Linked DNA regions of Homo sapiens: all the other regions are linked to region 1. The links are contacts of gene promoters, found by promoter capture Hi-C in blood cells and fetal thymus (Javierre and others, 2016). All regions are on one chromosome and are shown on one strand. Each heading gives the region's core, a stretch centred on a gene start or on the middle of the fragment in contact. The rest is flanking DNA. Distances are from core to core; before and after follow the strand shown. Region 1 holds the start of LMBRD1 (LMBR1 domain containing 1). Region 2 overlaps COL19A1 (collagen type XIX alpha 1 chain). Region 3 overlaps COL19A1 (collagen type XIX alpha 1 chain). Region 4 overlaps COL19A1 (collagen type XIX alpha 1 chain).

Region 1 (7,694 bases), core at 2,544-5,043:
AAGATTCAAAATAAATTGGTCTGAACACTGAGATTTTTAAAACTCCCCAGGTGGTTCTGATGAAAGGTCAAGTTTGCAAACCACTGGGGCAGAAGAAGGAATGAGAAGAGATGAATCTTCATTAAACTAATGAGAATAGATGACATACTGTATGGGATCTTGTTAAACTGCAGATCTGATTCAGTAGGACTGGGGTCACATATTTGGTATTTCTAACAAGTTCCCAGATGATGCCCACACTTTAAGGAACAAGAATAAATTTGCTTTACAAAAATGGAGAGTCTCCTATTGTAATGGCAAATACAATTTAAAGGTGGTGTGAGCCAAATTACAGAGGACATTGAAGCTAGATAGAACAGTTTAGATTTGATATAGTAAAGACAGACATAGTTAGATTACAGGCATGAGATACCAAATCTAACAATTCCTTATGTGTGAAGAAACTGAAGTCCATTCTTTTTGCCCACGATCACAAAAGTAGGCAACATTCATGTCCTGAATCTTTTTTTTTTTTTTTTTTTTTTTGAGACGAAGTTTCCCTCTGTTGCCCAGGCACTATCAGAGCTTGCTGCAACTGCCTCCACAAACCACCTCCTGGGCTCAAGCAATCCTCCCACCTCAGCCTTCTGAGTAGCTGGAACCTCAGGCATTTGCCACCTCGCCCGGCTAATTTTTTGTATTTTTAGTAGGAATGGGGCTTTGCCATGCTGCCCAGGCTGGTCTCAACTCCTGAGCTCAACTGATCCACCTGCCTCAGCCTCCCAAAGTGCTGGGATTACAGGTGTGAGCCACCACACCTGGCCCATGTCCTGAATATTTAGTAGATGATTGGCAGAAGTTCTCCAAGTGTGAAATCCCTAGGCCCTGGTAGTCCCCAGAATCCTTTCTGGAGATTCAGAAGTTGAAAACTATTCTCATAATAAATACTAAGATGCTATTTGCCTTTTTCACTGTGCTGACATTTGCACTCATGGTTCATAGCCACAGTGGGTAAAACTACTGGTGCATTAGCGTGAATCAAGACAGTGGCACCAAACTGCACCAGTAATCATTGTATTCTTCACCACAAGTTCAAAAAGGGACAATTTAAATTAAGACTGTGCTTCACAAAGCAGCATAAATTCATTTTATTGAAATTCAACCCTTGACTCTTTTTAATACTTTGTGGGGTAAAATATGAAGCATGCGTACATAAAGTCCTGCTGCATACCAAGATGTGATGGCTATCTCCAGGAAAAGTTTAGAGTTAAAAGCTAAACCAACCACTCTTCAAGGAACACCATTTTTACTTGAAAGAACAATTGTCAAACTGGTTATTCAGACTTCGCTTTTTGGCAGATTTTGTCAAATGAACAAAGGGAATCTATCACTTAAAGAAAAACTGACAGTATTTGATACCAATGATAATTATGAGTCAAACTTTCAAATGAAAATTGGATTTTGAAAGACTTACATCCACAAGTATGAGCTTGACAACTCTTCAATACTTAGAATTTTCAGAGACATTTCTGACAAGATCAGTTGTAATTTAATGAAATGTGATATTTTGATATTGTGTAATGAAACGTATCCATATTTAAAAGATGTGCATAACTCAGTAAACCAACATTTTCTAAGTGGCCATGGCATCATGTTATAAAACCATGCATGGGTAAAAGAGCCTTTCAAAGTGCAAGATGGGCTAATGGATTTTAATGTAACAATGAATGAAATGCTCATTGATAGGGTTTCAGATTCCACCTTGCAGCTGACATGAATCTTCCACTTGTTGAGCTTTGGTGTAGTGTCAAAAAACATCCACAATTATCTGAAAAACGCTCCTCTGTTTCTGACTACCTATCATTGCAGCTGTATTTTCTCCATACACTTCGACTAAAATAACATACCCCAAAAGACTGAATGTAGAAGGCAACAAAAGAAACCAGCCTTTCTTCTAATAAACCAGGATTTAAAGAGATTTGCAGAAATTTAAACAAAAGTCCTTCTTCCTAATGCTTTTATCCACGACAACATTCAATTCTGATTTTATTTGTCCTTGCTGTAATATTGCCAACTTAAATGGCCTCTCTTCTTCATCTATCCAAACTCTACCACAATTCTCATTTTCTTCCAATATTGTTGTCTATTCTCTTAAGTCCTGCTTTATTTATAGTCACACTTTGGCTTTCGGTCCATAAAATACATGTTTCAAGAATTTCAGTTTTCTCACTTATCTTCAGGCCCTCTTTAAAGCCGTATTTTGTTTGGTTTACATCCTCTTACAATTCACACCACTTCTGTACCGTAAATGTTTATTAATTTATAACTGCCAAGATAGTCTCACGTAACTTTCATACATTACATGCTTATTTATTTTTTTCTAAACAAACTAAATCTGATGGACTGGAAAAGCCAGGGGGCTCTCCAAATACAGGACTGGGTGGCTGCAGAGACCACAGTCAACCTTTAGGGTTTCATTTCCTCCAAGAGAGGACTAACATGTTCCAGGGTAAAGGCAGTGTTTTTATCTGTGACAGTGATGGCAGTAACAAGAGGATCCTTTTCTTAAATTTTCACACCATTCTTTTCTTTTATTTTCTTTTTTTAGTCTCTACTGCAAAAATCTACTAGAACATACTACATAGGTACCAGACACCAACTGGATCTGACAATTAAAGTAAAACCAAACAAGCCTGATTTCCAGAACTGGAGGTTTTTGTTTTGCAATGCAAAAAGGTCAAAATACGTGAGAACAGAAAGTAACTACAGCCTCGGACGATGAGAAAAGAGAAGATTTGAGAAGGTAGAGAAGTTATGAAAGGAAATAAATTGAACTCCCAAATAAACCAAAGGGTTTTAATATGAACAGGGAAGTAATAGCCAGGCCACTCTGAGACATTTCTATCTACACTTTGCTCACTGAATATGCAGAAATAAGATCGTTGGAAAAGAAAGCACCTGAGGTCAGACAGGTAGTAGTATATACTCCGATACTGGTAATAAAGAGGGCTACAGCTCCGCCCTCCACAGGTATCTACACCAATCAAAAAAAGATTAGAAGAGAATGTGACACCTGGAAGTCAGAACGAGCAACTCACGTCATCAAGGCAGAATCACACAATGGGCACAGAGGTTGGAGACTCACTAGCCCCAAGGGTAGGGAAAATGAGGGAAAAAACATACAGAGAAGGTGACAAGTAAACAACGCCAGCGCCTACTTAACTTGCAAAGATCCAGCGCTGCCGCCCCACACCGTGTGACAATGTTTTACAGGGGACGAAAGGCCACCACATACTTCTCAACCCCGAGGGTCTCTTCCGCCCCCAAACCCCACCGGCCCCATTGCCCAAGTCAGCGATGACGGCAAGAGCTTCCAAAAAGGACCCTGCAACCCTAGACGTCATCGGTGAAATGACAGCAAAAGAGACCGGAAATCGACACCCCCCTGCCCCCGCCGCCCGCCCAAGCCCCCAACACTAAGGAGCCCTCCACAGTCCAAGCTAAAAGCGGGGCGGGGCGAAGAGGGTCTCCGGGGCCCGGAGAGGCCAACTGCAGGGCCTGCCCCTCCCTTCCTCCCCCAGTCCAAACATGGGGAAAACTCCAAGCGCCTCCCCTACCAGTAGTAAGAGGCCGAATATGCACCAGCCGATCACCAGCTCCGCCGAGGCCGCGCCAGAAGTCGCCATCTTCGCTTCCGGTCCAGACCAACCTGAGCGCCCGGGGTGGGGAAAGGGGAGGGGGAAAGGGGAGAGAGCGCGAGATATACTGCACCCGCGCACCCTAAAGGTTAAAGGGGCGGAGGGGGAGGAGCAAGTGGTTGCCAAGGAGACTGGACCCACTAGCGTCCCCTGGCGGCGAGCCGAGCGGGGGCGGGGCAGCAAGGACTGCTCAGGGGCGGGGCGCGTGCGGACGCAGTGACATCACCACGCTGCCCTCGCTGGCTTCCCTGCAAGCTGAGATGTGGGAGGGCTGCAGAGCAGGGTGTTGGCTCATAGCTGGGCAACCTATTGAGATATTTGACTCAGCCTAAGTTGATAGACTAGAACAGCAAGGGAACTCCACAAAGAATGGGCTAGGTGGACCTGGAGATCCAAGTCAATTTTAGAGGTTTATACTTCTTCACCAAAAGGAAGTTTGGCCCTCGTGTACAAGGTGGAATGTGTGTGATTAGCAGAACTCCTTACCAGGTTGCAAGAATGGCTGATGTCAGGCCTCTGAGCCCAAGCTAAGCCATCATATCCCCAGTGACCTTCACGTATACATCCAGCTGGCCTGAAGCAACTGAAGATCCACAGAAGTGAAAATAGCTTAGCTGATGACATTCCACCATTGTGATTTGTTTCTGCCCCACCCTAACTGATCAATGTTCTTTATAATCTCCCCCACCCTTAAGAAGTTTCTTTGTAATTCTCCCCACCCTTGAGAATGTACTTTGTGAGATCTACCCCCTACCCCCAAAACATTGCTCTTCACTCCACCTCCTATCCGAAAAACTGTAAGAACCAATGATAATCCCACCACCCTTTGCCGACTCTCTTTTCGGACTCAGCCCGCCTGCACCCATGTGAAATAAACAGCCATGTTGCTCACACAAAGCCTGTTTGGTGGTCTCTTCACACGGACGCATGAGACAGCTGACTCTGAATAAAAGTTGACTAGCTGCCCAAATCACTCTAATTTACTGGCACTGGTGCCCAGCCGGGATAACTGGTTGGCTGGACATGAACTTATCACATGATGTTATAGCCTTTCTATTCAGATGTATGCATGCCTGTGAATTTCCATGATAGCTTTGTATGTAAAGGTATATGCATCAGCAAACAAAACACACTGCCATAGGCCCACAATGAAGAAGAAGGAGGAAACTCTTGGGATGGCTTACCTGAGTCCACAGGGAGGAAACTCTTGGGATGGCTTACCTGAGTCCACAGGGGTGTGAGTGCATGTTTCACCACTGTGATGTAGTCAAGAAACAACTCTGAGAAAAAATACCATCATCTTTTTCCAATGTATTATGTGGTGATGAGTTATGCTCTACCTATAATCTACTTCCGGCTGGAAGCCTGAGGGAAAAAATAGGATGGTCCTTCCTGCCTGGACAGAATAAGAAGGGAATAGGGGAGAATACAGTTTTAACTTGAACTGGTACCATCATAAGCTGGCTTTAAGCCCTCTAGACCTGCAAATGTTTGAATTTCACTCTTTCTTCCTAATAATTCATATCCCTGGAGACCTCTGTCATAGCTTCCTTAAAGTGAAGAGAGGTATCGCTTCCAGGTTGATATCTCTATTCCAGATTGTATAGAGCACCCTTGACATAAGTAACTACTTCTTAGAAAAAGATTCTGTTTACATTTCAAAAGGAATCATGCCAAAAGGGACCAGATGTTCACCTAATCAATAGAGACTGCACCCAACCAGATAACGACATAACCAGGCACACTCTTTTATTATTATTATTATTATTATTATTATTATTATTATACTTTAAGTTCTAGGGTACATGTGCACAACGTGCAGATTTGTTACATATGCATACATGTGCCATGTTGAGGTGCTGCACCCATTAACTAGTCTTACATCAGGTATATCTCCTAATGCTATCCCTCCCCACTTTCCCCCACCCTACAACAGGGCCCAGTGTGTGATGTTCCCCTTCCTGTGTCCAAGTGTTCTCATTGTTCAATTCCCACCTATGAGTGAGAACATGTGGTGTTTGGTTTTCTGTCCTTGCAATAGTTTGCTGAGAATGATGTTTTCCAGCTTCATCCATGTCCCTACAAAGAACATGAACTCATCCTTTTTTATGGCTGCATAGTATTCCATGGTGTATATGTGCCACATTTTCTTAATCCAGTCTATCACTGATGGACATTTCAGTTGGTTCCAAGTATTTGCTATTGCAGGCACACTCTTTACTATCAGTCAACACCAGAGGACTCTGAGGCTATAAAAAGAGTAGAACTTCAACAGCTCAAGATAGCCATCTTAACAGACACTGTCTTACTGTCACTCATGATCAGCATCTAGCATCTGCCACCAAAGGTTCTGCTCAAATCAAAGACTCTTCCTTGCAAAATGTTGATATGCATCCTGATCAGCCGAGGACACTCTCCTTGTCCATGTTGCTCTCCTTGGATTGGTTAATCCTGTTTTCCTAACCTTTCTCTTGATGTTAAATGTTATTTTCTTTTAGAATGTTTAGCCTATAATATTTATATGTTATGTATACTACTATGTTTGGTTTGCAATATTGACTGACTTGTGGAGTGGCTAGAGCTTTGTGTCCTTGGTTCTGACTACCAAATGAATGGGTACTACTAAGGAAAATTACCTCCTTCGGACCTTCATACAGCTCATGGCTTTTATGATTGAAATAGCATCAACAAAAGTCTGACTGTGGAAAGACACAAACTTGCAGGGACTTGAGCCACTGACAGGTAGTCACTTATATCTCCTCCACAAGCCCCAGAGCATACTGAGGTATACTTAATTATTCCTTTTCCTGCTGAGGTCTTGTAATCTTCTTCTAGAAGCTCATTTAAGTTGGAGGAGAGGCCTAAGACAACCCCAAGCCAGTTCTTCCCCTTTCCCCAAATAGTCTAAATCCCCTCTGTAGGAATGATGATACATACCTTGCACCAACAACTTTGGGAGCACAGGCCAATCCCAATGTAGCTCCATTCTCCTAGTTCTACAATCAAAGGAATCAGCCCTTTTTGATTATACCCAAGAAAGTCAGCCCCTGATGCTACAGTCCACTGTAGTTCTCTCTACTGGGTCAGACACTAGCCCTCTGTGTCCTCAATTTCAGGGGCCATATTTCAAATTCTCCAAGTAGCTCCCTTGAGGCCTCCCTTACTAGGCTAAGGGTTAGAAGGTAACACCCCACTCCAACCCACCCACCCCTCCACCTCACCCACAAATACACCACTCTTTGGAGTTAAGGATGGAATTCCACAGGTCAGCAACAGTTCTCATTAAATAAATCTGTTTATGAATCTTCTCCTCTTGCTAATACATTTGTAGAAATTTTATTTGTCTGAGGGGTCTAAGAGTTATATAATAAATTCTTGAATCCCTTTTTAATTATGCATATAAGGGAGAATTCATAGTTAGAATGCAGACAAGTAAAAATAAAAATCTGACCCTCCTCCATGGAAGCCCTGGGGCCTCCGTTTTTTCTGGGGACCAGGATCCAGGTCTCCTGCTCACCTGGAGGTAAGAAAGGGAGCCCAGAGTCAGGACCCAGTGAGAGGGTTCTGGAGCTGAAAGGAAAAAGACTCCCCTAAGGATCTTGAGGACAGTCAAAATTTGCTGAAATGTCCCATTTCTGGAGAACCCTACCATCTCCATGACTGCAAGCCCATGTTAGCCTGCTGGAGAATGAGATACCATGGGGAGGAGAGCCAAACTGCTCCAGTTGACAGCCAACTCACACTCAGAAGCAGAGCCGCCTAGTCAACAGCAGCTGATCACATATGCCTGAAGGAGCCCACCTGAGCCCACAAGAATGGCCCAGTTGAGCCCTGCCCAAATGGCTGAGCAACTCCATCATGAGCTAGGAAGTCTTGCATGGTTTGTTATACAATAGCTAAGTAATATATGTACCCAGTATGAATGGGATGTCAGGATTCAATGACAGGTTGATTACTAGTTACCTGCAAACAGAAAGCACCCGACAGGTACAGATTTCATTTTCCCCTTATTTAAAG
Region 2 (7,694 bases), core at 2,944-5,443, 190 kb after region 1:
CATCCTGTTCTTAAGTCGCAAGCCCTAATTTTTATCTTATTTTTAGTCTTGTAGCTAAATGAAACCTATGTTCATTGTCAATCTTTTGCCTGAAGTTTCTGTATCATTCTCTTGGTTGGCTGATGTTTGCCTCCTAGTTTTTTCACAAAAAGTTAATGAGAAATATATATGCGAAGGACATGGAAGTCCCCCAAACTTTGCTTTCACTTTATACTTTAATGACAATTTAGCTGTGTTTATAGTTCTTGAAAGATTATTTGTTTCCTTGGGGACATTTTAGCCATTAGTCTTCTATCATTGAGTGTTTGAATGTTGCTCGGGAGTTATCTGAGATTAGCCAGCCTAAAACCTATTTCCATAGGAGATTGATAATTTTCTTCATTTTAAAGAAATAATTAATGCAAATGTAATAACCAAATGTGTAATTTAAGAGCTGCATTTAAGAACTGGTAACATTTGAAGAAAAAACATTAGGTTTAATTTGGGTAGGTTCAAAATGTCTCCCTACCCACTTGTAGTTGGGATCAGAATACAAAGTACACCTCAAAACATGTCTTTTAAGGGAAGAATTGTTTCCTTGGGTAAGATAAAACTTGAAACTGAATTCCTCACTATTGAAATTTTAATAGTACAAGGTTAAAAATGGCATTCAATATGAGTTTTGTTGTGTGGGATGGTTTTGGAATCTTTAACTGAATAATTCCATTTGTTTAAGTAGTGAGGTACTAACTTTCAGAGGAAGAGACTTTAAGAGAATCAGTTGAAAATGACTAATGCCAAACATGAAAGCAGCATCATCATTTCTTTACTCATTCCTCAGAAGAGAAACACCCTTACTGCCATCCAGAGGTCTATGGTCCAGTGGCGAGTTCAGCAACATTAGCAAAGGGGGTGAAGGATGAGAGATGACTCAGAGACTTTTCAGTCAGGTCTATTGAAGAGATAGCTTAATCAGGAAAATTAGGACCACTTTAAAATGAGTATCAAGAGTGGAAAGTAGAGACATGCTAATAAGAAGATAGGACTTCTGAAAAAAAAAGTAGCTGAGTATATATGCAAACAGCCAGGACCCTGGAACCTAAGTTTCCTTCACCATTACTGAACGTTTTCAAAAATTCCTTAAACTTCTATTTCTTTGTCTAAAAAACTGTGAAAATTTTCCTTATTTCAAAACTTTGCTCAGAAATGTCTCTCCTGAGAGTCTTTGAAAGTTTAGGGCATTTAAAAATGCATATTATTAATTTTACTGAGTTAATAGCCATTATAGTCTAGTAGTGTGTGTAATATATATCAGGGGACATCTTAAAAGGCATATTATCATAAAATGCATATTTAAGGACTTTCCACCTACATAAATTGAACTTAATAGATTATAACAAGTCTAGTGGGCCCATTAGGGTCTTTGGAAAATACAGTTCAGGGCCTTGTTAAAACATATATTCTTCATGTCATATTCTACTTAAGGAGCTTGCTTCAGTAACCTAGAATTTGAATATGTTTGTCTTGCTTAGTCATGAAAAATGAAAATAAAGAACTCTTTCTTTTTCAGTAAGACAGTCTACAAAGTCAGGAAGAAAGCAAATTTTGCCGCTAATTACATTGTTTTTAGTTTCAAATAACATACATAGAAAAGTGTCAATTAAAATAATAGCTGCCAGTAAAATGTTAAATGACTTACACGTTTTATATATATATATATATATATATATATATATACACACACACATATATATATATTAATCCTCCTTTTATAAGTCAGAAATGTGAGGGATTATATGTTTCAGTTTAAGCTGAGGTTATTGATTGTTAGTTACCAATGGATATACTTCAATGAGAAGCATTGGGTATAAATTATGTCCAGTGTTTCTCATAACGTGATCTGAAAAACCACCTACATCACAATCTCGTGGGTGCTTAAAATGCCTGTTTCTGAGCCTCATTCCTGATCCCCTGGATCAGAAGTCTAGGCATGTGCCTTGGGAATTTGCATTTTAATAAACTCTCTTAGAGATGGTTGCATAACAACTAAAGTTTGAGAGCAGTTATTTTAATGTGCAAACCTATACACATAATGTACTAAATATGTGAAGCCCTATCTAGAACGAACTTCTGGGCATATATACTTTGACCGCAGAGTTTATACTACAATTCCTTAAACTTTCTTCAAGTAATGCTTATTTTGAAACCAGTTCTGGTCTCCAGTGCCCAACTTGGTCTTATTTAGAAAGCCACTGAGCTTTCTGGCTCTAAGACTGAGACATGGAGCTCTAACTTTGTAGCTGCAATTGGAAAATGCATTAATAAGATATTTGAGTGCAATTGCCCATTAGAAATTCTATTTCTAAGATTTTGGATACTTTTTGTATTTTGTTTCATTTTGTGTTGTGTTGTGTTGTGTTGTTTGAGACAGTCTCACTCTGTCACCCGGGCTGGAGTGCAGCAGAGAAAACACAGCTCACTGCAGCCTTGACCTCTTGGGCTCAAGAGATCCTCCCACCTCAGCCTCCCGAGTAGCTGGGACTACAGGCATGACTTTTGATATTCCTTAAAAATCTTTTTTTGTTGTTGTTCAAAATCAAGAGGCATCATCCCAAAGGTGTCCACTCAAGGCCTATGGATATTCAGCAATGATAACTGACTCTTATCTGCAGCACATCACTAGCTACACCAACACAAAACAAAACACAGCAAAATAAAATCCTTCTGTCATGTTCATTTATCCTACAGTCTTCCTCAAAGTGGAATTATAAAAAATGGAATTTTATTATTTACTAATAACTCTATGTCTAAATTTGTTTTTCCTGTTTTCTCATTTTACAAGTGCAAACATTATCCTCTTGACTCAGTGAAAATTAGACTTATTCTTGACCCAGACATACGGCTATACTGAAGGAAAATTCATCATTGGCTACTGAGAAGGATCAACTCTGATAGCTGAAATAAATTTGAAACAAATCTCACACTAGAGACTTGAAAGTCCTTAAAACGATTGCTTGGTTTCACAAACAACACTGTGTTTTTAACATATAGAATCGGCTAGAGGTCCTTATGTGCTTGTGAAATTTTCCAAATGTGAAAGACATAAGCACCACCGTTTGTATCACAGCTCTTTCTTTCACTGGCTTCTAGGACTTGAATCTAACAAAATACCTCCCAGCTGTGCTTAACTGCCTTGTGGGGTTGGTTCTTGATTGTTGGTAAGGATTCCCTGCCATGCTTACTTGGGAGCCTCCTAACATTCTTCCTTCTCCTGGAGAGAGCCCCTAATGGAATGGAGTTCTTAATACCAGAAAATTGCCTAGAAAATTTACTCAAGTAGTGGGCTTTCTCAACCCAGGGTTACAGTAAAAGGGAAATGTGAAAAGTTTAGAATTAAGTATGAACATCTAGTTCTGACATGGGAGGAATAAACTGAGTACAGCATGTAAGAAAGATAATTATTTGGACCCTTAAAGCTTTAAACCAAATACTCTGACTCATACAGGTTCTGGAAAAGACTCAAAAATGGTTCACTATTGACCCTGCTGTAAGAAACAGATCTTTATTTTGTTTTTTAAAGAAGTTTTAAACACCAGATTCGAAATGACTTAAATATGCAAAAGTGCAGCATTATTACCATTTTCTTTCCCCATTCTTATATGTTCATTCTCTAACTGCAGCCTCATCAGTGGTTTACTACACCAAAGGCAGTGAAAAGGTTACATGTCATTTCCTGTACTCCTCATATTCACTAGATTTGACTATAAATTCCATAGTGAATTACAGCACCACCATTATTAAAGTAATATAGGCCAAAAGATAAGCATTACTTAGTGTGCTTAGTGCTTAGGATTTTGCATGAAGTATCTGAAAAGGGTCTTCTGCCCTCCACCATATGTGGGCTTTTAATAGTTGGCTTTTCCTTATTAGTTCCCAGATGAGAAATTAATAAAACAAATGATCGTTGCTACTGATAAATAAATGCTATACCGGAATCATTTGGGAAATCACTACTGCTTATGAAAAGACTTCTAGCACCTCTTATACCTTTCCATGTATCAGACAAGAAAGTTTACTGAGTTCTGTGCTAGATGCTCTGGTGGAATAAAAAGGAACTAGAAAACAACACCCACGTGTTAAGAGACTGATAATACCGTTGGAGATTCAAAACAAACCTCTTCCCCTCCTCCCTCAGCAGTCTCAACTTGTCTTATCAGTTCAATCATCATCTCTCAAGAGGATGGTTCCTAAATCTATAACCTAAACCTGATATCTTTCCTGGAGTCTGGTCTACTTTACCCAACTACCTGTTAGACATCTCCTCCTGGATGTCCCATTTATTCCTTTGGTTCAGCATGTTCAAAACAAAACCCTTCTGCTTTCCTTTCACATCTGCTTTTCTTCCTGCATTTGCTCTTTTCTATTTGTGCTGATAACATCACCATCCTTCTGGGCTTTGCACAGGTCTGAAACCTGTAATTTTTATGAACTCTTGCTTCTCCCCTCTTTTCCTGTCACATCTCATTTCTCATAGCCGCCCTTCTTTTTCAGCCCCATGGCATTTCCCTAAGTTCTGGCTTTCCTTGCCTTTGCCTAGATTGTTGGAATAGGTTTCTAAGTAAATTACATACCGCTAAGTTTTTTACCCACTAATTTTTTCCTACATAACTAGCTCCATTACTCTCCAAAAAGTACAATGCCGGGGTTCTACTCAAAAAGAGTCAGTGCCTCCTCAATGGCTAAAAGAGCATGTCCAGACATCCCTAACTTGCCCTTCGTGGTTTCTACAACCTGATTCTGCCTGCCTTTCCAATTTAGTTTCATAGAATTTTCCTTTTTCGGAATCCTGTGCTTTACCTAAAGCAAGTAACTTGCTAATCCATATATTTGTGCCTTTTCTTTTACTTTTCCCTTGTTCTAGAATAACGTCCCTCTATTTCTTTTGATGTAGATCAAGCTTGTCCCAACCACGGCCTAGAACAGCTTTGAATGTGACTCAACACAAATTCGTAAACTAACATAATGAGAGTTTTTTACTTTTTTTTTTTTTTTTGCTCATCAGCTATTGTTAGTGTTAGTGTATTTTATGTGTGGCCCAAGATAATTCTTCTTCCAATGTGGCCCAGGGAAGGCAAAAGATTGGACACCACTGATCTAGATCCTACCTAAAACATGGAAACTTGCTCAATAGCCACAGAATTAGACTAAAATTTAAGAGCCAATTTCTAGAACAGAATGGTCTAGGTTCAAACCCTGGCTCTCCCACTTTACTATGTCAAAATACTTTACCTTCCTCTACTTTAGTTTCCTCATCTCTAAAGCAGAGTAGTAGTACCTAATCCCTAGTGCTATGATGAGGTAAATGAGTTAAAGCTCTTAGACTAATGTTTCATGTCTATAAGATCTTATATAAATGCTAGACTTCAATTGTGAATGAGTAATTTTTGCCTTCATTTCTAGAGCTTTATCTTGTTAAGAAAATTCTCATTGCATATCAAAAAGCTTAATAATGAATGTGTACAAATGATGTATCTCTTTATTTGTGAGCATGTGAAGTACCCACTTATAAAGACTCTGGTCCTAGGCATAATAAAAAATTGTTAGTATGGACAATTTCAAATAAACACAAAAGTGTGCAGAATAAAATATTGAACACCTGTATATACTTCAGCTGTCTTCAATTCACAGCCAATCTTGTTTCACTTAGACTCCATCTTGTATTATTTTGAGGCAATCCCAGTCAGCATATGTTTCAGCTATTAACAGTTCAGTCTGTATCTGTAAATGATAAGGCTTTTGTTTTTACATAATCATTATTTCATTATAACACTTAAAATTTTTAAACATAACTTTTTAATATCATTAAGTAGTCATTTGGTGTTCAAATTTCCAATAGTATCATAAAATCATAATTTTCGTTAACAATTTGCTGTAGTCAGGATCCAAATAAGATAGGCACATTCTAGTTGGTTGCTGTGCTTTTGATGGTCTCTTGATCTATAATTTTCCTCCCCCTCTCTGTCATTTTGTTTGTTTTATTACATTATTTGTTAAAGAATCGGGGTTGTTTGTCCTGAAGAATCTTCCATAGCCTGGATTTGCCAACTGCAGTTTCATGGTGTACTTTAATATGTTCCTCTCTCCTCTGTGTTTCCTTTAAAGGGTGGTTAGATCAGTTTAGGTGTGATGTTTTTAGCAAGACTACTTCATAAATTGTATGGTGGTGTGTGCCAAGAGCCACATAATGTCTGAAAATCTTTCTTTTTGTGATGATTGCAGCCATTGATCATCAATATCTAGGCCAATTAATTCATTCAGGGTCACAAAATGGTGATTTCTTAAAAGGATTTATTCAATTTTAACTTTTTCTTCCTTTTTCTGACTTCTATTTTAGGTTTGGGGGGTACATGGCAGGTTTGTTACATGAGTAAATTGTGTGTCACAGGGGTTTGGTGTACAGATTATTTTGTGACCCAGGTAATCAGCCTAATACCTGATAGATAGTTTTGTTATTCTGATCCTCCTCCCACTCTCTATCCTCAAGTAGACCTTGGTGTCTGTTATTCCCTTTTTTGGGTCTATGTGTACTCAGTGTTTGGCTCCCACTAATAAGTGAGAATGTGCAGTATTTGGTTTTATGTTCCTATGTTAATTCACTTAGGATAATGGACTCTAGCTCCATCCATGTTGCTGCAAAGGGCATGATCTCATTCTTTTTTATAACTGTGTAGTATTCCATGGTGTGTATGTAGCTCATTTTCTTTATCCAGTCCACTTGGATGGGCAGTTAGGTTGATTCCATGTCTTTGCTATTGTGAATACTGCTGTGATGAATATATGCATGCATGTGTCTTTATGATAGAATAATTTATATTCCTTTAAGTATATACCCAGTAATGAGATTGCTGGGTCTAATGGTAGTTTGTGTTCTCTGAGAAATCTCCAAACTGCTTTTCACAGTGGCTGAAATAGTTTACATTCTTACCAGCAGTGTATAAACATTTCCTTTTATCTGCAACCTTGCCAACATCTGTTATTTTTTGACATTTTAATAATAGCCATCCTGATTGGTGTGAGATGGTTTCTTATTATGGTTTTGATTTACATCTCTCTGATGATGAGTGGTGTTGAGCATTTTTTAATATGCTTGTTGGCCTCATGTATGTATTCTTTTAAGAAGTGTCCTGTTCACGTCTTTTGCCCATTTTTTAATGGGGTTATTTGGTATTTACTTGTCCACTTGTTTAACTTTCTTATAGATTCCGGGTCTTAGACTTTTGTCAGCTGCATAGTTTACAAATATTTTCTCCCATTCTGTATGTTGTCTGTTTACTCTGTGAATAGTATTTTTTGTTTGTTTTTTGCTGTGCAGAGGCTGTTTAGTTTAATTAGATCATATTTGTCAATTTCTGTTTTCATTACAATTGCTTTTGTCATCTTCATCATGAAATCTTTGCCAGGGCTGATGTCTAGAATGGTATTTTCTAGGTTATCTTCCAGGGTTTTTACAGTTTTAGGTTTTATATTTAAGTCTTTAATTCATCTTAAGTTGATTTTTATATATGGTGAAAGGAAAGGGTCCAGTTTCAATCTTCTGCATATGGCTAGCCAGTTATGCCAGCATCATTTATTGAATGAGTCCTTTCCCCATTGCTTGTTTTCGTAAGCCTTGTCGAAAATCAGATGGTTGTAGGTATGCATCTTTATTTCTGGGT
Region 3 (7,694 bases), core at 1,478-3,977, 170 kb after region 1:
AGAAACACCCAAGAATGATCAATAAATACTAAAAAAATTAAAAAAAAAAAAAAGAAAAAGGCCATTTAGCAAGGATTCATTCACGTGCTCTTCACTCCTTAACCCTGAGCTCAAGTTTTTACTTTATGTCCTTGTGAAGGTAGAAATATTACTTGGTTACATTTATGAAAAGAAACAGCAAATAGACAATGAAATGTAAACATCTGCCTCATTATACCATTCAATATTTTTAAGTAATTGCTTCAAATCATGTAATTTAGTTTGCTTTTAAAATGATGATTATTTTATGTTGTCACTCAAGTTCTAACTTGAAGTTTGAGAACTAATTTTCTCAAAGTTAAACTTAACTGCAGAACCTATTGCTAAATATCATTTGATTGTGAGAAACATCCAGTGGCAACTGCTACTTATACCTTACTTTTCTTGATTTATTACCTAAAATGTAGTCGACTTGGTTCACTGAATAGTGATGTTTAACTTGGGCATATATGGTGGCAGATTCTTACCTGGATCTAAGATGCTTCTGCTGGTGTGGAAATTTTCCATTTGGGAAATGAAAGTTTTCTGGTCTCTTGAGGGCCTCTTAAGTTTGATAAAAAGAAAAAAACAATCAAATGAGCACTTCTTCGTGAATCATAAGACTGAAGGAGAGGTGGAGAGCATCAAACATGTGGCATATTCTGCAGCTGTGAGAGTCCATGGTTGAGCAAGTTCTTGCTTTCTCTTGTTTAGGCTTCTGGGCATTATCTACTTTGATAATCTTTATTGCTGATCTTTTCTTCCATTCTGGGTTATACTAATAACAATAAATGCAAACACAAAACTAACAAGTTCATATGGTCCCTGCTTTAACTCATCTCTTAAAACCATTGTTGGAAAACTAGTTGTAAATTTCCAGTGACTTGTGATTTTTTTTATTGTCTTCTTCTTACCAAAATATAATCTAGGTCCTAAAATGCCATATGAGATATGTATTTAAATTAGAAAACTGTGTTTAAATATTTATTACTCTGGTTTTATAGTGGTTGCAAATATTTTTTACCAGACAGAATCCACTGGAAAAACATTCCACAGACCCGTATTCTTAGTTGATTTATTGAACTCTATATTGTTATAAAATTCCGTACAAAATATAATATTCAAATGAATACAATTATTTAAATGTCTACTATAACGTAGCGTAAAGTACACGTAGCGTAAAGTACACTTTGCTACCCACAAACTATCTGGGGTTATTTATAATAAAGTCATGCATCAAAACATTTGTATTTCTTTTATCACCAGTCAACATCAGCTAATTTTCAGATGACATAATTCAAATTTTTGTAAGCCAGCCTAAAATAGAATATATTTAGGCTTGGTGCTGATTGTATTAGTATTGATTTTATTAGCACTAATTTTATATGCCACCTTTTGCCTTCAGTGGTTACTTTTGAAGATGTGATGGGGGAATGGAAAATGCTTAATAGAAAATGTCTTCACTTATCTATTTCATAGGTTAATCATTGATATTGTTTTCTTATCAAATGAATATTAAAAATAGCAGCAGTGAATTCATTCTTGTTATTCTGTTGCTTTTTTGTTTTCAGCATTAAAAATATATCAGCAATTATGATATGTCTCATATAGTCCTAGGCTCATAAGCTTGTTGGATAATTTATTTGGTAGCATTTTGTTCATTTATTTCAGATAGATAGATTTAACTTTTATATTTAACTTGTAACAGCAGAAATTAGATAATCAGACTATTTTTATACTAGTACCACAAATAAATAATGTCACCTGCAAGCAACTTTCTAAAATATTGACTTCTAGCATTAAATGTCATGAAATTATAGTAACTCAGAAAATCAATAGTGATCATTTGCTACTAGAAACAACAGTTATGGCTTTAAATAAATGAGGATTTTTACCCTGAAAAATCTTTTTACTTTTGTCAATTTCTCATTCAGTTGTTATGGTAATTACATGCAGGACATGAGAATTTGAATGAGTGGTTGTGACTTTGGGCCACTTAAAATTTGGTATTGAGTGAGAAAAAGCCCAAATAAGGATGTTTATATAATATACGTAAACGATTATTCAGGACATTCTGGGGCAGCATCTAGATCACTCAACAAGGAATCAACATTCTTAGTTTCTGGAGTACCACTCCTGAAAGAGCCTAGACTTGATGTTTATTTTGAAAGTGATGGTGACATATCGTAAAATAAATGGATTCACATATTTTTGTGTTCTGTGTTCCAGTCCAGCTCTGTAATGGCAGCTGTGTGAACTTGGATATGTTCCTAGCTTTCTTTATCATAGTTTCCTCTTTTATAAAATAAAGTTAATTACTACCTCACAGAATGACTGCAGGAATTAAATGAGTGCCGGTGAATAAAAGATGTTCAATAAATGTTAATATCCTCAGCAGCCAATATACAAAAGTAATATAAAATCTTAATATTTTGACAAAAATTTATTTGACAGAATTATTATATATCTTTATTTGTGTAATATTAATTCCTAATTTTTCTTGTGAATAAGTAAATAAAAGACAGGAGGCTATAGTAGTTAGCTACTGATATGTGACAAATCACCCCAAAACGTAGTGACTTAAAACGTTCATTTATTTAGCTTGTGATTATATGGTTTAGAAATTTACACTAGGCTTAGCTCAGTGATTTTTTTTTGTCTTAGTTGATCTTATCTACGTTCATTCATACAATTCGCCTGTGTTATCGGCAGGTTGTGCATCCAGGGACTATGCATCTGTGGATTCACCCAACCATGAATCAAAAATAAATATTGAGAAATAAAAATTAAAAATAACAATACAACAATAACAAATAATACAAATAAAAAACAATATAATCTAACAACTATTTACATAGCATTTACATTGTGTTAGGTATTATAAGTAAACTAGAGATTATTTAAAGTATATGGGAGGATATATGCAAATACTACTTCCTTTTTTATAAGGGACTTGAGCATCCATGGACTTTGTTATCAGCAGGGATCCTGGAACCAATCCCCAGCAGATTCTGGGGCAAGAGTGTGTATCTCTTCTCAGTTGCCAGGTTGGCTGAGGGTGGCTGGGCTAGTTTGGCCTCTGCTAGACAACATGTCTCCACTCCAGATGATCTCTCATCTTCCAACAGTTATCCTGGACTTGTCCTCAAGGTGAAGGCAGGGATCCAAAAAGAGGAAGCAGAAGCATATAAAGCCTCTTTAGCCTCCTTGCTCAGAACTAGCTTGCCCCCACCTCCATCACCACCATGTTCTACTGGCCAAAGCCAGTCTCAAACCCAGCCTAGATTCAAGGAGTAGGAAAATAGATTCCACCTCCTGATGAGAGAAGCTGCACGGACACATTGCCTAGGGTGTAAATATATGGAGAGGTGAAAAAAGGGGCCATTTTATAATAAATCTAACACAAATGATATAAAATTTTATTTTAAATTAACAGTAGAGTAGAAAGATTAAACAGATTTATCAACTTTACTTCATTTTTTTCCTTCTCCCATGGCCTAAAATATAATTCTTAAAGTTAGGTTTATATAGTGGGACTTGCAGACTGTGTCAAAACATATTTTGAATTTGAAATGGTAGAAATACTTTATATGTAATAGGAAAATATTATTTTAAAAATCTTAATTAGAATGGGAAAAAAGAAACACAATATATCAAATAATTAAACCAAGGAATGGTTTTGTACTTTTACATAGCAAAATGTACTTATTAACTTTATCTAAACTAAAACTGATACAAGAATAAATGGAAAAAACAAGTCAAAGTTGAAATTTTTTTTTAGGATTTCATGATTAAAGCTTCTTGGTGATTATGCCTATTATTTAAAACTAATGCAAGTATGTTAAATACTGCTATTATAAATATAGCACTTTCCCTTCATCACTCTAAAGCAACTGTCTACATGTTACCTTACTTCCCGTGAATTCTGTCTTGGTTCACCTTGCAGAGTTCTACTGAACATCAGCGTGTTATACAATTGTTTCCTTTACCCTAGTAACATGTAAACTAAACTTCTACAATTTTTAGGAAGGACTTACTTGTTTGATTTGACAGCTGACTTAAAAAATAAAGAGAACAGATGGAGCAAAATAATAACTATGATTTTAAAAATCATAGCAATTTATCTGTGGCCAATGATAATTGGTATGGGAGTAACCATGCCAACTTTCAATTATCCATGGTAGCAGGCAATTGGGAAAGAGTGATGGTAATCCCACAGCCAAGCCAGAGGCTTAATGCTAGTCATTACAGATTGTGTATTATTTTCCTAATTCCTTACAGTGCTCGTGAATAACTCTAATTTATGTGAAATATGTTTAACCCTCTGTTGTTGCATCACTTGCTAGTAGTTATAGAAAAAGTAAAATGTCCAGAGAGAGAGAGAAAGAGAGAGAAATAAGAGGAGAATAACTATAAAGGGCTATAATATTTTATGAACATTAGTCTTTTAAAGTATTATTTTAATGATTGCATAATATTTCACTATATAAATACGTAATATTTTATGTGAGCATTCCCTTGTTGTTAGAAATTTAAGAACATCTGTTAAATGTGTTTTCTTATTTGTGTCACTGGTGACTTTAGCAAAATAATTTTGATGGAATAGAGAGTAGAAGCCAGGTTGGAGTTTCCTGAAGAGTTAAATTACAGGTGACCGATAAAGAGGCCATGCAGAAAAACCCTCACGAGAACTAGCTGTGAAGAGGACAACAGCCATAGGACAGTAGCTGGAGAGGGTGTGAGTCATTTAAGAAGACTTTATTCCAAAATCCAAAGCCATCATAAGGTCCTTGGCAGGAAATATTCTTGAACAAGTTAGGACCCAAAAGAAAAACACGGACTAGTTCACTAATACAGAGAATTCCAAACGTTTTATACTTCCTAAGAAATGTCAGACTTTAGGCCATCATTTTTAAGGAATTCCCACTAAAATCAAGACTAAGACAAAGGTGTAACTGCTATTATTTAACAATATTCTGGAATTTCTGACCAATGTCAATTTTACTTCCAAATTATAGTTTAAATCTGTCTATTTCTCTCCATCTACCCCAGTGTCACCAAACCGTAATCATTAGTCACCTCCTAGTTAATCTCCCTGTTCTCACTCTTTCTCATTCATTTTCCAAATTATGGTCAGATGCATCTTTACAAAACTATTCATGTGGCTTCTATTTTAAAAACATTTTAGTTGTTTCCCATTAGGTTAAAATCCTGAATCCCACAAGGTCCTGCAAAGTTGGACGTAGATGTGCTTCTCAGAACTCATCTCTTCCCACATTCCCCTTTTCTGCTTCTATTCCAGCCACACTGACCTTCTTTCAGTTACTTGAATGTGCCAGGCGCTCTCCTGACTCACAGTTGTCCATCAGTGTCCCCACTGCTTTGAATATTTTCCCCTTCATTTAGCTTCCCTCTATCCACTTAGCACATCTTAAAAGTCATTTTCTTGGAGGCTTCCTTGACTCTCCAATCAAAATCTGCTCCTTCTGTTATAATTTCTCATTGTACCTTTAGCACTATACTGCACCTGTATAGCATTTACCACAATTTATAATTATAAATATACTGGCATGAGGATTTTGTTTGTCTGTTTTTCTTTCTCCAATAGAGTAGAAGCTTCAAGAAAACAACGACCATGTCTGTCTGTGTACGTTTTTATCTCTAACACCTAGTTGAATGCCTAGCACACAAAAGTATTCAATTAATTCATTCTTTACTGTGGGGAAGTATTATAGAGAAAGTTAAGTAGTGTTTCTTTTCAGCCTCCAGAAGTATTTAATAATTATTATCTTGATGCATTCAATTCAGTATCAACCCTATTTTTTTCAGACTCCTACTATTGAATTTGTGAGATATAGCTAGGGATAAAAATTAATTTTACATGTATGGCCCTTAGAATTGTGTTTAAAAAGACAATATATAAAATATAAAACATTAATATATTTAATAGTATGCTAAAATTTACACAGGAAATATTGTTTAACCTAGTATATTTCCAATTTTTATTATTTGTGAATCACATTGCCTTTTGGCAGGCACTATTTAGCTCATAATTCTATAAAATAAAATACAGTTCTTTTAATACCAGATATTGCAATGTCTTTTGAATTTAGTAGTAATGTTAAAGGTTGTCTACTGGCTCCTGTATCATAATTTTACTTTCCAATTACAGTGGAATTTTGGGCTGTTGACTGTAGTGAACCTAGGTTAGTTTTGTTAAGGAAATTTATTCACTCAATATTTTATGTAATTTAAGTACAAATAAATATGAAAGTTTGGGGTCACATAAGAAAGAATAAATAGAAAAACCATGATCCTCATTTATGTAATGATTAAGGCAACTTGACTTTTAGTAGTTTCTCCTTAGTCAGTGCTGGGTATAAAAGGGTGGTTTTACAATGTGCCTACATTTTGCTTTTATTTTGACCTTTACTCCATTTATCCTATTTCTTCACTCCAGGCTCTGGAGCTGCCTCAGGTTTCTACTCTTAGCTTTTGGTCTTCCCTTTCTCCTTTCTCAGGATCTGCCTGTGCCATAGACTCCACTTCCTCTGCTCTCTGCTGGGCTCCTTGTCCTCAGCTGCTCATTAATCTCTTCACCCCCACTGCTTTCTTTTTCATTTGTTTGACTTACCTCCCATCAAGCCTGATTTCCACTTCAGGTTACTTTCTTTCATTTTTTCGCATATTTTTGTATTCAAAAACAAGGAATAGATCTCTTAGGCAGTCCCTCACCACGACTGACCCTGAGCATTTCTGAATGCAGCTGAGTTTAAATTGAGTAAAGGCAACTCTCACATTTGTTATGAGGTTTATACACACAGGGTTTTTAATGTATAAAAAAAAGATGTGTTTTTTTAAATTAAGAAAAACAGAATAGATTTAAAAATCAAGCAATTTCTTCTGCTTAATACAATCATCAAATATCCATAATTTCTAACTGTTTTTAGTAAATCTCAATTAATAAATATGCTTTATTAACAAAAATCTCTTTTTTGGAAGTACATTCCAGATGGTAAAAAGATAATTAATTCGATGTCACCAAATATTACATGACAGGTGTGTTATTTTTATTCAGGAGCTACCGGCATGTGAACTTCTTTCACAATCAATGTAAAAGCAATTCACTGTATAGGAATTGCTGAACAAGTGTGTCCTACCAGACCGAAATAGCAGAATTCCACTGCACAGAAAACAGAGGTGTTAGTGCAGCTGCTGTTCCAAGTGGATGTTGTACAGTGACTAGCTGTTTTGTAAGTTATTGTCTAGGCTTATGGTGGTCTATTGCTTCTTAGTCTAATATCTTAAAAAAAATCATTGGTTTTTATTTTCCTTGATATCCTTGATATTTCCTTACAATCTCCTTTAAGAACCTCCCCATCAATGATCTGTTCTAATATCAGTAAAGGATCAATGAAACAAGACAGAAATCAAATAATCAATTTGCTTTGTCTTTTTTCACTTTTCCTTATTGTTCCTCATTTTCTGCTGCTAATCATTTTGTGTAATCAAAACTCAAGGCAAAATGGTAAAGCGATAATGCTTTGGGCAAACATTTTGTGGAATGTTATTTTAATTGCCTGCACTTGTCCAGCCCTGGGGAGGAGTGTGGCAATGCAGATGGCTTCAGCTGGCTGTATTCCAGGAACTCACTGATAGTGATTCTGCCTCCCACT
Region 4 (7,694 bases), core at 1,907-4,406, 150 kb after region 1:
AAAAATATGCTGAATGCATGAATGAACACTATACCTCAAGGAAAGTTTAAATAATCAACTCAGCTATTTCTAGAAACTGTAAGTTCTCCTTCCTAATTGCCCAGGAGACTCTGCTGAGCAAGGCAAAGATTCAATTTGCAAGGAAAGAATTAAATAATATTATATTGTTAACTATTGTTCTACTACAGTTTTTTCTTTTAAAAAACAAAAATTCTTTTCACATTGATTTAATCAGGTTTAGCTTAGTATTGTCTAGGTAATGAAGCATCAAAAATATTTTGCAAAAAGCCAGAAGTTTTGGCAAAACTTAATATGTATTTTTATTTGCCTATTTTCTTATCTACTATGATGGTTTATTAATATGATTTACTACTTTTTCTTTTTTTATAAAGGTGATGGTCACCTCTCATGGAATAATGCAGTTTTAAGTACTACTGCTTGTATTTAATTATCTAGTTGTGATCAGCATTCTATATCAGAACACCTAATCAAGCGATTTTAACCATGCTCTTTAACACTAAACTCTGTATAACATTATTTGAAGTAATAATTAATACTTTTCTTTCATTTAGACTCAATTGTAATAATTTTCTGAATTTTTTAATTCCCTTTTGTTAGCAAATGTAGTTAGCAACCTAATTCCTTAGCAACTGCATTACTTTCTCAGTTCTTTAAGACCCTTGTTAATACCCTCACCCATTTCAGAGCTGAAATTCTCTCAGAGTTTTATAAAATATTAGCTCAATTTTAATGTTCTTGAACCTGAGGGGAAGTGTTATCTGAGCTCCATTTTGGGAATAATTTTCCAGTTTATTTTTCTATTATTATCTTCCATATCTCCAGTTAATTTGCCAAAATGTGTTGACTTTATGAAATGATTGCTTTGCTGATATGCTTTGACAGAAAATCAAAACTGTTTAAAATGGAATAAGTTAGCTTATTTGACTTCTTAGTCAGAAACTGGTATTGATTTATTTCAACTTCTCCTGCCCTCCAATCCCACTATAGAGGTTTTCATTTTGAGTAGTCTAATATGCTAACCCAGAGATGATGAGTAAGTTTCCCCTCATTTTCTTTCCAATCTGACATTACTCATATGCCCATTCTGTAACCATACCACAACAATAAAAATTAATTAAACCAAAATACGTTCATAATTTTTAAAAATAAGGATACCTTCTCTTAGTAATAACTTTACAGAAGTAGGATTTAATATTATTCTTTTGACTTCTTTTAATATGTCAATATAAGAAATAATAATGTTTCTTTATCCTTTCTAATCCCATATTGAATATATTGAAGTAATTGACAAGTCCTTTTTTTGGATCAGTTTTACCCAATTTGATATAATCTCATGTAATCTACAGGAATTCACTTGAAGGTGAAATTTACTTGTGGGTCTTCATCTGAAATTAACAGATAGTATCATTATAATAATGGTATTACATATTCATAAAATTACAATATATTTCTTAATTTCTACCAAGTGTTAGTGACAGAGAAACTCATTCAAAAAGTGTATATTATTTTCCACTGTTTCGAGGATAAATTTATTAGACTGAATTTGTGATAGTGCTTTTAAGGAAGCCATAGATGATCCATAGACTTCCTTGCACCTGTTTTTCCATCCCTGCTTGGCAGTTAGACAGAAGAGCAAGGAAGCTGATCATTGGATTGACCCAGCTTTGGGGTTTTTCCTGGAGGATGTAAAGGAAAGTCAGGCATACTAAATGAAACAAATAGGAATATCTTAGAATCTGAAATTTCCTGACCTACTTGAATTGAAAGCATCGGATAGGATGTAGCTTTTAACTCATTTAAACTCATTTATCATATTAATTGAAGTAACAGCAATAGTATTATTCCTTACATTTGGTAAATGTACTTTTGGTAAATATTAAATCCTACTTCTGTGAGGTTATTACTAAGAGAATGTATCCTTATTTTTAAAAATTATGAACATATTTTGGTTTAACTAATTTTTATTGTTGTGGTATGGCTACAGAATGGGCATATGAGTAATGTCAGATTGGAAAGAAAATGAGGGGAAACTTACCCATCATATCTGGATTAGCATATTAGACTACTCAAAATTTGGTAAATTACAAAGCTGAATTACATATTTCTGTGTGAATATGTCTAGTTTTAGTTATGATTAGCACTTAGATATTTACGAATTACTGATTTTTTACAATTTATTATTTTGGCTTGTGGGCAATATGAGGAAGGAACTTGAAGCACAAACTTTGGTGCAAGCAAAAGCAACTCATCTAGGAAGAGGTAGATTCACTTTGACAACATTAGTAATTAACGCACCCCTTAAAAGTAATCTCCTAATAAGCATTTCTGTATTTTAGGGTGCAGTTGGTAATAAAGGTGAATTTGGTGCTCCTGGAATTCCTGGGGAAAAGATATGATGGTTTACTCTTTGATCAAAATTTATGGTTATTTTATAAAGCTGTATCAGATAGGATAGGAAAATATACAGAACAAGTCCTATAGTTTAGAGGTAATCAAACTGTGGCCCTATAGTAGGGCTGCCAGAAACTCTCACTGTAGGATTTTGTACATAAAGTTTTACTGGAACACAGCCACACTCATTTGTTTTTGTATTACCTAAGGCTGCCTTTGTGCTTCATGGCCAAGTTAAGTAATTGTGGCAGAGACTGTATGGCCCACAAAATCTAAAATATTTACTCTCTGGCCCTTTGTTGAAAAAGCTTGCTGATCCCTGCTCCGGAACATTGGCTGCTATTCTTTTAGCCCCAGGGCTTCTCAAATTCACCATTTTATATATAATATGGTGTCTTAATATGTATTTCACTGCAGACAAAAATTAGGCAGTTTATGTAAACATTTTATAATATAGACTATAAGACATACTATAATTAAAAATATAAGAAATATATTTCAGTGTATCAATAAAATGCTATACTGTAGGCTATAGCTCATAAAATGATTGATTTTTATGTTTTTCCTGTAATACCACAAAGATGATTCCAAACAATAAATTCACTCACGAGAAGTTACTGTTGCAGTTTAGCATCTTATTCAACTTCAGTTTTTGTAGAATATTTAAAAAATTGTTGTATTTGTATATTAAACTGCAATCACCTTGTCGTATTTTTCCCTATATATGCCTATATTAATATTAATAACTTTGCTAAATTTTTAAAGTTCTCATATGTTGATGCTAAGAAAATTCTCTTCTTTATGAAAATATGCTTAGTATAAGTTTTTGTGGCATTCTAGCTGCACTGATTATCAAGTGAGTCCATTGTGTCATTATCTAGAAGGCCATGACCATTGTGGTTTTATTCACCTAAAGTTAGCACAGCAATAACTGAAGCTGAAGCAGTAGGAGGTTCAGAGGTTTTCAGACAGATATTTTTTCAGACCTTCATAAATGTGTCTCTGGTATCTGATGGCTTCATTGATGCTACTTTTTCCTTTCATAAATTATTCAGTCTGATATGCAAATTCTTTACTCCTATAGGAATGTAACTGTTAAACTCAGTAAAGTCCAACAAACTCTATTGAAAAACAATACCTTGCTGCAAGTTGATGTTTATTTGGGCTGCTATCTTCTTGTATAAGCTTACTGATGACATTAATTGACGATTCTTCATCATAAATAAAAGCTTCTTTAAATACTTGTTCAAAGTTCTAATTCTTTAAAAATATCTTTTCTCTAGAGAATATTACTTGATCACCTAAAGAGATGCCCCAATCTAAATTTACCTTGTACCCTTATTCTACCAATCTTTTTCTAAAATGCATCACAATAATCTGATTGTTTAGATTTCAGATCATTAGGAGTTTTTGAATTATTCTGAACATGGGAATCTTTTTTAAAACATTTGCAGAATCACCGAAGCGCTTGAGCTATAAAATAGATTGTTTGACTTTATTGTGGGATGTAACGTGAGACTTACGTACATTTACACAATAAATTATGGCATAGCAGGATAGAATTCCCTTTGAATGCTTTAAAACAGAATTTATCAAGGTTGGTATAAAATAGCATTAATTTTAACACTCCAAAATGACAGCCCTTGGATCCTTATGTATGACAACCAGGTGCAAACTGCTACTTATTGGTTGTGGAACAGGTTCTCAACTCCTGAAAAGGTGATGTCCACAGACTGACAATATAAGGACTAGATGAAGCATTCAGTAGAATCAATCCTGTCAAAAGCTGATCAAATGAATTGCCATCCAGGGCCATGATAGTAAGAAAACAAGTCTAGAAAGTTAAGTATGCAAGCCAAGAAATTCTCTAGAAGAAGAGAGAGTTTCTTAGAAAAGAGAGGGCATTTAGGGCAACGTGAAGGAACTGGAGCAAGTCAGTATTTCAGAGACAGGCACTACTCAGAACTAAAAATTTTGTTTCTTTTCCCAGAAGTCCACTTTTGTAGAAAGAATCTTGTGTGGTGATTCATCCTATATTTCACTTAAAGTAAAACTTCAGTGAATATAAAGGAAAATACTGATAATCTAGTTAGATGAAGTCATTCTGAAAACCAAAATCCTCAGCCCTTGGTGCCCATTTGGTCAAAATGGTGACTGAGAGAGTCTTGCAAAATCAGTTAATGAGTGTGTCTGTGTGAAGACACTGTTCCCAGAGAACTTAAGAAGCTAATATCATAAAGAAGCAGCTGTTTTTATGGTGTTCTAAAACCATGGCAAAATTGTCCTGGCAAATACTCTTTCATGTTTCCTCAAGCAGTTTTCTTCTGGGTCTAATTTACTTGAGTTACTCTTAAAGGGTCTCACAGACAGTTAGAGAATTCATGTAACTTCCAGTGGTGCTAAATATGGTAACAGATTACGTTTAACTCTTGGTTCCCGGATTCACACATCATCAGAGACCGTACTTAGTGGTTAATATCCTTCCAATACCTATAGAAGCACTGAGTCTTTGACCACTTTCTCTTCCCAAGGACTCAGTCCCTGGTGGTGCCAGCTATGATTCTAACTTGTCACTTCATTTAGCTGTTAAAGGGGTGTGACACTCTTGAGTGAAAAAATGCCGCCTCAATAGTGTTTTCTCGCTTCTATAATCCACAGGTTACCACTTATTGAAAATAATTCTAAAGAATGTATACAAAATGAAAACAAGAAAGTTACTAGCGTATTATCTAACAGTAGGTTAATAAATTGTAAAATTTTTTTTAAATTTCAAAATTTTAAAATCATCCTCATGAGGTTTATGTTTGGGGTGAAATATTTCTGTTATTTTACAAGAAAAATGGTTTGTTAGATTTTTCTAAGTAAATTTCCAGAGAAAAATTATCAGTTCTTAACATGTGTGTCACCTCAGGGCTTTGTATCCCACATTTGCTTCAACGTGAAATATGTGCATCTTCCAGAGTAACTTATCCAGCATCCCCTTAACTTTGACTCTGCTTGTCAGCAGTTATAATTCTTTGTTTTGTTTTGCTTTGCTTTACATAGAATCAGGAGTACTTAAGAGTACTGTTAAAAAATAAATAACTAGGTTGAATTGTTTAACTGTTTCACTTGGAGCAAAAACATATGTACAATACCATAGAATATGTATCTCAGGTCTAATATTCTCAAAGTGAAGATTTTTTTCTAAAGTTAACATTTAAGCTAGGAAACTGATTTATATTAATGGAGTGAAGCATATTCTGAGCAGTATGAAGTATTAATTTGTACATTAACTATACTTTACACTTACATCAATGTCATACTTCAATAAATTAAGTGATTTGCATATAAATCACATTATTCTAAAATAAACCTACACTTTGAAATTTAGCTAGGTAATAGCAGTAAATTCTTTTAAGTCAAGACTCTGAACAATGTATTAATATACTGTGGTGGCATTTTTCCTCTGACACCAAGGATAAAAATAGTACACTAAACAACACAATTTTATAAAATGTATTTATGGAATGTGGAGTCATGAGGACTCTAATAAGGATGAAGTATAGCATTTAGTTATGTTCTTTTGTAATTGTAATACTTATCACCCAGTACAGACTTGCAGTAGACATTCTTAATCTAATATTAGTTCTAATCTAATAAAGCCTTACTGTTAAACATTGCATAAAAATAACTGTCCCCTTTACATTTATTCAGAACAGCTATGATTTTGCCTAAGAGATTCGGTAAGTGTTCTGTTATGAGTTCATTTAAGAAAATCAGTTCTGTGTAGCAGTATTATTAGGTAGCTGGCGACTTCTGGTAAGCTTGGATGGACAGAAGGCTCTGTCAATCAAAATAAGTAAACTGGATGGTTCCATTTCCAAGAGAAGTGAATGACTCAAAGCATGAGATCACATGAATGCAGCCACACACACACACACACACACACACACACACACACACACACATGTTCACACCTTGCATCCTCATGGTATGAAGTAGGAAAATGAGATGAGGATTTGGACACTATGAGCAAATTTTGCCCACTTTGCCCCCAAATATAACACTCAAATCATGTTTGTTTTCATTACCTGAATACTTCAAACAAAAAAGTGCCTCATTTCATACTTCACTTATGTATTTAAACATAAAAGATATATTTCTCTAGAAGTGGGGATTTTTTTCTAAGTAGGAATAATTATTGTCCAATAATCTTATCCTAATAATGTGATAGTAAAAATTGAACAAATATAGAGCCTAATTTATGCTAAAACCCATATTCTATCTACTAAATTACTTTAAATTTGCCCTAAAATGTTTATTTTAATAGGAAAACTTTTACTAAGTTAATTTTGCTCCCCATGGAGTAAGTATGAAGTAAATCATAGCCATCATTACTTTACTATGCTAATATTAAATACTCAGAGTTAGACTGCCTGGGTTTGAATTCCAGCTCAAAATCTTACTCTCTAATTTAGAGCATGACACTTGGTCTCTCTAAATGTCAGTTTTCTCTTTTATAAAACAGGAATTATATTGCATCTACTTCTAGCTTTATCTTAAGGATTAAATAAGATTATTCATAAAAGTGTCAGCACCTGGTATGTAAATATTTGGTAAACAACAGATATAATTTTAACAATAAACAGTTTGATGATTCTATTATTCTAGCCTTACTGTGGGACCAGATTAGAACTTATTTGAAGGAATGTATACACTTCATCTTAGCCAAAAGGCCAAGAAGCAAACACTTGGGGGAATTTATATTAGTTATTGAAAATATATTTACAGGAAAATGTTAAAGTCACATATCTTATGTAACCTTGACCTCTTAAAACAAACTAGATGTCAGAAAACCAGTGAATTCCTCACTTATTATAAATATGTACAAGAATATAAACTTTTACAATAATAATAATAACAGCCATTTACTCAAAAAGTGTTATATGCTAAATGCTATCAGGAGCCTTCTTCACATTATTTCATTCACTCCTTACAACACCCCTGTGAGGTAAGATTTATTGTCACTATTTCACAGATTAGGAAACAGATCTAGAGAGAGAGAGGGAAAAAAAATTAAAAACTTCCCCTAACTTGGTACGGAGAAAATAGTAGAGTCAGGATTTGAACCTCTATCCATGGAAATCCATAGCTCTTGCCCCTTTGCCATATTACCTCATCTGGACAGCTCCTCAAATATTCAGATTTCATTTACACAGGCAGGTCTGAATTAGATCTTAAATTTGTTTGCCTGCCAGTTTAGTGAGTGAACTGCAGTTTGCTTCGGACATCCTGCTCCA

Evidence for each region. The method cuts DNA at HindIII sites, captures the fragments that hold promoters and counts their contacts. A CHiCAGO score of 5 or more calls a contact.
Region 2: a fragment that was not itself captured here is called in contact with the fragment with the promoter of LMBRD1 in region 1 in 2 of 17 cell types (total B cells and naive B cells); the score reaches 10.4 in total B cells.
Region 3: a fragment that was not itself captured here is called in contact with the fragment with the promoter of LMBRD1 in region 1 in 2 of 17 cell types (total B cells and naive B cells); the score reaches 6.7 in total B cells.
Region 4: a contact is called between a fragment that was not itself captured here and the fragment with the promoter of LMBRD1 in region 1, in 2 of 17 cell types (naive B cells and total B cells). The highest score is 7.5, in naive B cells.

Annotation. Positions count from the first base shown.
Region 1 is chr6:69,793,217-69,800,910 of GRCh38, forward strand. LMBRD1 (LMBR1 domain containing 1) reads right to left here and starts at 3,794. Exons shown (of 16, transcript NM_018368.4): 1 at 3,597-3,794. The coding sequence starts at 3,665. RefSeq lists enhancers at 2,745-3,301, 3,126-3,175, 3,302-3,857, 3,486-3,715. The HindIII fragment of the contact is 19,066 bases long and covers 1-7,694 here.
Region 2 is chr6:69,984,538-69,992,231 of GRCh38, forward strand. The region is part of intron 11 of COL19A1 (collagen type XIX alpha 1 chain); the gene reads left to right. Among named protein-coding and RNA genes, the nearest start is that of COL19A1, 120 kb to the left of the region's middle. The HindIII fragment of the contact is 1,481 bases long and covers 3,454-4,934 here.
Region 3 is chr6:69,966,743-69,974,436 of GRCh38, forward strand. All of the region lies in intron 11 of COL19A1 (collagen type XIX alpha 1 chain), which reads left to right. Among named protein-coding and RNA genes, the nearest start is that of COL19A1, 100 kb to the left of the region's middle. The HindIII fragment of the contact is 2,171 bases long and covers 1,643-3,813 here.
Region 4 is chr6:69,944,355-69,952,048 of GRCh38, forward strand. All of the region lies in intron 9 of COL19A1 (collagen type XIX alpha 1 chain), which reads left to right. Among named protein-coding and RNA genes, the nearest start is that of COL19A1, 82 kb to the left of the region's middle. The HindIII fragment of the contact is 877 bases long and covers 2,719-3,595 here.